Regions from separate parts of the Homo sapiens genome. Here region 1 is linked to region 2. The links are contacts of gene promoters, found by promoter capture Hi-C in human tissues and cell types (Jung and others, 2019). All regions are on one chromosome and are shown on one strand. Each heading gives the region's core, a stretch centred on a gene start or on the middle of the fragment in contact. The rest is flanking DNA. Distances are from core to core; before and after follow the strand shown. Region 1 overlaps CHAF1A (chromatin assembly factor 1 subunit A). Region 2 holds the start of PLIN4 (perilipin 4).

Evidence for each region. Contacts are between HindIII fragments. The study calls those that stand out against the background at their distance.
Region 1: a fragment that was not itself captured here is called in contact with the fragment with the promoter of PLIN4 in region 2 in 2 of the 25 tissues and cell types used here (dorsolateral prefrontal cortex and liver).

Annotation. Positions count from the first base shown.
Region 1 is chr19:4,414,775-4,418,184 of GRCh38, forward strand. CHAF1A (chromatin assembly factor 1 subunit A) reads left to right here. Exons shown (of 15, transcript NM_005483.3): 4 at 3,246-3,302. Among named protein-coding and RNA genes, the nearest start is that of CHAF1A, 14 kb to the left of the region's middle. The HindIII fragment of the contact is 3,051 bases long and covers 1-2,952 here.
Region 2 is chr19:4,516,918-4,520,227 of GRCh38, forward strand. It overlaps PLIN4 (perilipin 4), which reads right to left and starts at 1,569. Exons shown (of 8, transcript NM_001367868.2): 1 at 1,468-1,569; 2 at 1,305-1,372; 3 at 637-781. The coding sequence starts at 1,355. The HindIII fragment of the contact is 33,356 bases long and covers 1-3,310 here.

The sequences.
Region 1 (3,410 bases), core at 177-2,676, 100 kb before region 2:
TTGGGCTGTTAAGGAGAATGAGGTCTTGGTAGCTCAAGGCAATGCGTGCGTTCTTATTTTCCCAGCTTGCACTCTCTCATGCTTGGGCCAATTGGAGGTTTTCTCTTTTCCCCCCTGCCTCCGCTCCCCTGCTGTCAGGTTTTAGCGGCTTATCTGGTCTGGGCTTAGAAATTAGATACCCTTTAGTATAAAATCAGAGTCCATAGGCTCTGAGAGGATTATCTGAGAAAGGGTGCAGGAATTTTCATGCCCACACATAGTGAGCTCTGTCGCGACTCCTTGGGATTGTCGGTTTTTGTGTTTTGGCTTCCTTCTGGGATCCTGGATCACGTTTTTGGCAGTTGAGGGTGCTGTCTGACCGGGCTCCAGCTGGGTAGAATGTGGGAGTGTTGCATAGAATTTTGAGAGTGAGATCTATAAACACTTGGGTCAAATTTCAAGAAGATAAAGTTCTGTCAGACTTCAAGGTCCATCTGAGGGTTTGGCAAAGCAAAAAAGATACCAGTTTTAAATTAAGCAGTAATTGCTCTGTTTTGGTTGTTGGATATTACTGAGCGGGCTCTTGCCAGTCACATCAAGTCTGTTATCTCTGGACTCACAGCAGAGGGGGGGCATTGTAAGAGGCAGGAGATTCTGCAGCTGAGCTTCAGGCATGGGCAAGACTAAGGAACTGAATTCCCCGCCACCCCAAGACCACATTCCGTATTATAATCTCTGAACACAAAGGGCAGCCCCGGAGAGCTGCGGCTCCCATATTCTGCAGTTAAATCCCTCAGCGTGGGGGAGAGGCACACAGCCTTGGCAGGCAGAGTAGATGCTGGAGAGACAGATGCTTTTTCTGCAGCATTTGGTGAGGCTGCCTCGGGCTGGCATTTCTGTTGCCACATTCTCAGCAAAGACTGAACACCCTGGCCTGATCTCGGTGGTGAAAGAGCTCCTGCCAACACGGGCAGCCTTCTCACAACGGCTCGGCCTTTCCCTAAAGAAAGGTTTAGTCCAGAAAGGACTCAGTGGGACCCAGGTGGAAAGGCTGTCTTGAGCTCATTCATCTGAAGCTTTTATTCTGTGAGAGGTCCTAGTCAGGGGTTCAGCTTTCCCAGATAAAGAAATCACTGTTGGCCGGGCGCGGTGGCTCACGCCTTTAATCCCAGCACTTTGGGAGGCCGAGGCGGGCGGATCACGAGGTCAGGAGATCGAGACCATCCTGGCTAACATGGTGAAACCCCATCTCTACTAAAAATACAAAAAAATTACCCAGGCATGGTGGTGGGCACCTATAGTCCCAGCTACTGGGCAGACTGAGGCAGGAGAATCGCTTGAACCCGGGAGGCGGAGCTTGCAGTGATCCGAGATGGCGCCACTGCACTCCAGCCTGGGCGACAGAGCGAGACTCCGTCTCAAAAAAAAAAAGAAATCACTTACATAATTTTGTTGACCCCTCAGACCATTGCCAGGAAAATGGGCCTTTGGTTTTTCAGTCAACTTCAGTCTTACACTGCAAGTCTGCAATGAACCCGGAGAACTATTTCTTCCCACTCTTAAGCGTCTCTTCCCATTGCTCTTCACTTCTACTAGTTTGGTTTTCAGGATTCCCTGCCCCGGTGGGAGATAGCTTAGGCCAAAGTCCAGACTCCCTGTTCGTCTTCCTTCCTGGGACCATTTAGGTGGATGGTGAGTCACACCATGGATCCTATTGGTAATTCCTAGTAGCTCATGCTCAGTTTGAAGGTAGGTGATAGAAAATATTGTGCCCTAGAAGGTAGAAGTCCTAGAAAACCCCAGCAAGTTTCCCTTTTGTCTTAAGCTTTCACTCCACATTCTAAAAAGCAGAGTTGGCTGGGCGCGGTGGCTCACGCCTGAATTCCTAGCACTTTGGGAGGCGAGGCGGGTGGATCACCTGAGGTCAGGAGTTCGAGACCAGCCTGGCCAACATGATGAAACCCCTATCTCCACTAAAAATACAAAAATTAGCCAGGTGTGGTGGCACACGCCTATAATCCCAGCTACTCAAGAAGCTGAGGCAGGAGAATCGCTTGAACTTGGGAGGTAGAGGTTGCAGTGAGCCGAGATCGTGGCACTCGCTGCACTCCAGCCTCTGTGACAGGAGTAAGACTCCATCTCAAAAATAACATTAAAATAAAAAGCAGAGTTGAGCTAGACAGAATGTAAATTAGTGGTGCACAGGAAACCAGCCTGGAGACATGTTTTATTTGATTAATTTAGTATCTTTTTATTTTTTTTTTAGACAGTCTCACTCTGTCACCCAGGTTGGACAGCTCAGTGCAGCCTCAACCTCCCGGGCTCCTCCCACCCCAGACTCCTGGGTAGCTAGGACTACAGATGTGCACCACAACACCCGACTAACTAAAAGCTTTTTTTAGAGACAGGGTCTTGCTTTATTGCCCAGGCTGGTCTTGAACTCCTGGGCTCAAGTGATCCTCCCGCCTTGACCTCCCAAAGTGCTGGGATTACAGGCATGAGCCACTGTGCCCGTCTGTGTCCATTTTTAAACACCTAAAAAAATTCATATGAAATTCCTAATATCAGCTTCTCTTGGAGAAATTGGAAGGACCAGCAAATAGGGATCTATATTCCTGTAAGAACTCCATCTCCTTTGGACAGGCAGGTCCTCTCTCCTTTGCTACAAATCCATCCTCTCCCTGTCGCCCAGGCCAGCTGTCGCTTTTTTTTTTTTTTTTTTTTTAAGACAGAGTCTCACCCTGTTGCCCAGGCAGGAGTATGGTGGCGCAATCTCGGCTCACTGCAACCTCCTTCTCCTGGGTTCAAGCGATTCTTCTGCCTCAGCCTCCTGAGTAGGTGGGATTACAGGCACCTGCCACCACGCTCGGCTAATTTTTGTATTTTTAGTAGAGATGGGGTTTTGCCACGTTGGCCAGGCTGGTCTCGAACTCCTGACCTCAGGTGATCTGTCTGCCTCGGCCTCCCAAAGTGCTGGAATTACAGGCGTTAGCCACCGCGCCCAGCCTTGTCTGTTGCCTTTATTTCTGAGCTTGCCTTGTTTTTCTTGTGCTTGGTGTCCTTCACTCATTTCTTTATCTGCCTCCGTAGTCTCTCTTGTTATCTAATCCCAGATACACACATGTATGCACACTTACTGGAGTTTGTGACCCTATTATGACATTTTGGTTCTGTTGGTGGAAAAACTGATCACCTGGAAAGGTTTCTCTTTTTCTCGAAGCAATTGAAATAACCCGTGTTTAAAGATAAACGTCTTCTGTTTTCAGATAACTAAGAAATTCGTCAAAGGCTCTACAGAGAAGAACAAGCTCAGACTGCAAAGAGTAAGACATTTTCCCTGAAATAGAAAATTAACCTGCTGTGCTTTTTGCATTAAATAGTAAGCAAAGCCCTTTGAAGTTCCTTTGGTCTAGTTTTTACATTTTCCCCAG
Region 2 (3,310 bases), core at 319-2,818:
TCCTCTGCTGGGTGGACACCCACCCTGAGTCCCGGGGTTCATATAGCCTGGCATGGGGGAACAGCCCCTTGCCCAGCCCGCCCCGCCCCCACCGCAGCTGCCTGCTGCCTATTGCCAGGCCAAGGCATGTGGAGCAGAAGTCAGCTGCCTGGGGCTCTGGGCCCAGAGGGAGGCCCAGCTCAGGCGGCTGCCCCAACCCTGGGTTCCCTGTCACCGTCCCTGATCGCCCAAGCTGAGCCACAGGAGGCTGGGGAGCCCCTGGGCTGTGTGACCCCAGGGGAGCTGTTGCTCCTCCCTGGGAGTCTGGATCTCACTCTGATGAGCTCAGATGGGCAGAGCACCCAGCCTGGGCCATGGTGCATCAGAAACGGAGTGCAGGGTGGGGGAACGGCCGAGGGACTGAGTGGGGGGGCATTGCAGGGAGACAGGCTGGGTTGAAAGCCACCTTCGGCCACTCACCCCCCATATTTATGCCTCAGTTTCCCCATCCACCACAAGATGTCCTAGTGTCTGATGAGAGCACACAGACAAATATGGAGGACTCCCCAAATGGCTGGAAGTCCCTGCCCGGGGAGCTCCTTCTCCCAGGTCCATGTGTAGAGTCCCCCCACGCCCCCAGCTGGGCCAGCCACTCACCCTGAGCCTGTGGTTGGGCAGCCTCGGCAGCAGGCGCTCCTGTGGGGTCAGCGGCCGGCCGGGCTCTCGCCGAGCTATGTGCGTTGGCCACCAGGTTCCGGGCAGAGCTGAAGCCAGGCAGGGACCCAAAGAAGCTGCCCAGGGTCTGCATGGGGGCGGGGGGTGTGCAGGATGAGCAGGCCAAGCCTCGGCAGGAACGGGTCAGAGGAAGCATCGATTGATCAGCCCAATGCCGCCCCGGCCCCTTGCTCCTGGGTGACCTCAGGAAAGTGTTTCAGCCACTCAGCCTCAATTTCCACACCTGGGCAATGGGCAGACTCAGCCTGCCTCCCATGCACAGAGGAAAAGATCGTCTACCCGATCTCCAAAGACCTTTTCCTTCCAGGATCCCCACTGCACAGATGGGGAAACTGAGGCTCAGAGAGGGGCGGAGCTGAGGCCGGCCCAAGGTCACTTGCTGGGGAAGGTGTCGAGGTCTGCGTGGGTCCCCCGCCTCCAGCTTGGGTCAGAAAGGAAGGGATTGGCATCATGGCTCCCAGACCGCCCCCACCAGCCCACCAGGGAAGCACCTCTCCAGATTCGAGACCCCAGGACTGTGGAGGTCACCTTCCCCGGCTCTGGGGCATCTCCAGGCCCCAGCAAGAATCTGCCCCATTTCCCCTCTTTACCTTGCCCTTCGGTTTGGGGGGATCCCGTCTCCCTTCGTCTGGAGCAGACATAGTGAGAACGTGAGAAGCTGGAAGGGGGCAGAGAAGGTGCGTGAATGGGGGTTCCCTAGCCTCCCATCCCACACCCACTCCCCACTGAAAGCCTGAGCAGCCCGACACCCACCTGCAGGCCTGGCCTCACCCTGGTGTCACCGAAGCAGACGCGGCCCCGCTCACCTGGACTGCGCGGGGTCCCCTGGAGGACGGACCGGCCCGGCTGGCAGCTGGCTCTACCCTCAGCTCCCTGGCCTTATAGGGTCCGGGGCAGGCGCAGGCCCAGCCAGCAGCGGCAGGCGGCCAATGGGCCCGGGGGAGGTGGCCTGGACGGTCACATGGCTACCTGCCCAGCCCAGCATGGGCCCAGGCCCAGCACCTTTCCCCTGTTTCCTGCCCACAGCTTGCATCAGGCTGAGTGGCTCACAGGCCAGATGGGCTCCCCTCCCGGGCCCCTGAGCCTCCAGTTCCATCCACGAGGTGGGTGTAGTTCAAATCTCTGCTGCACCAGGATGCCTTGGCCAGTTACCATCTTTTTGCTTCAGGTTTCTCTCTCGTACTCCGCACCACGTCCCGTAACATCCAGCTTCTTCTCTGCTCTCATCTCCCCCAGCTTCCTCCTTCGCTTGCTTCATCCCAGCCACACAGGCCTCCTCGCTATGCCTCCAGCGCACCTGGCACGGTCCTGCCTTAGGGCCTCTGCACGGGCTGTGCCCTCTGCCTGGAACACCTTCCCTGCAGGTTCCCACAGGGCACCCTCTTCCGCCCACAGAACAGTGCCTGGCATACATTTGGCGCTTAATACACGTTTGGCTCAATGGAGCAACACAGAGAGTGGTTGTGAGCCTCTGTGAGATGAGGTCATGCACTGAACAAATGCTGCCTTCGCGTTACCCAGGCAGAAGCGGGGTCTCGGGGTCTCGGCAAGGAGCAGGGGGTGTCCTCAGTGTGGAGGGGAGCCCATCACTCTCCGGAAGGGACTTGGGCCAAAACGCAGACCAAGATGGAGCACCAGCCAAGCTGGGGGCACCCTAGGAGTGGAAACCCAGCCTGGGGGGCTTGGGCCAACCCAGGGAGGCTCCCTGGAGGAGGCGTCCTGTTCCAGAAGTGGTGAGGATGGGATTCAAACCCAGACCCTCCTGTTCCAGGAAGTGGTGAGGACGGGATTCAAACCCAGACCCAGGACCTTCGTGCTGAGCCCAGCCTATGTGCTGGGCTGTCTGTGGGTGGGTGGGCAGAGGAATGGCCGTAACGCCCACCCTGGGCTGTGTCCCCCTCCTACCTGCCCCTGAGACAGGGTTCCTAGCCCTGTGTTATTGGGGGTGAGAGGGCAGACCCCATGGGTGGCTCTGGGCACTGGGCTGGGAGGAGGGAGGGTACAGCCACAGGATCTGATGATTCCCAGGCCGTCTGTCTCCTTGGAGCCGACACTGTGTTTGCCAAACAGTGGGGGAACAGAAGGGGGGGTGTCCCCCAACCTCTTCTACCAGCCAGTGCTTCCCAAGGGTGGCTGGGAGAGCTCTGGGTGCCCCTCCCCTTCCCAAAGGGCAGCCACAGCCCAGTGTGTGGAGAGAAAAAATTAAAAAGTGATCATAAACATCCCAGCCAGGATCTACCCCTCCTCTGCCCAGCACCCTCCATGGCTCCCACCTTCTCCGGGGTGGGAGCCCAGGGTCAAAGCCCAAGTCCCCTTCCTGCAGCCCGGTAGGCCCTGCATAACCTGCCTCGTCTGCTCCCCACCTTCCTCTCCTTCTTCTCTTCACTCTGCTCCAGCCACACGGGCCTTTTCACTGTTCCCATAACATGCCAGGACAGAGTCCCTCAAAGACACACGTGACTGTGCCTGCTTAGCCCCGCACACCCTTCCTCAGGGCTTTCGTGTGGGTTGTTGCTTTTGCCTCCAGCACCCTTTCCCACATCCCTCACCTCCTTCCAGGTCTTTCCTCAAATATCACTTCCTCAAAGAGGCATTC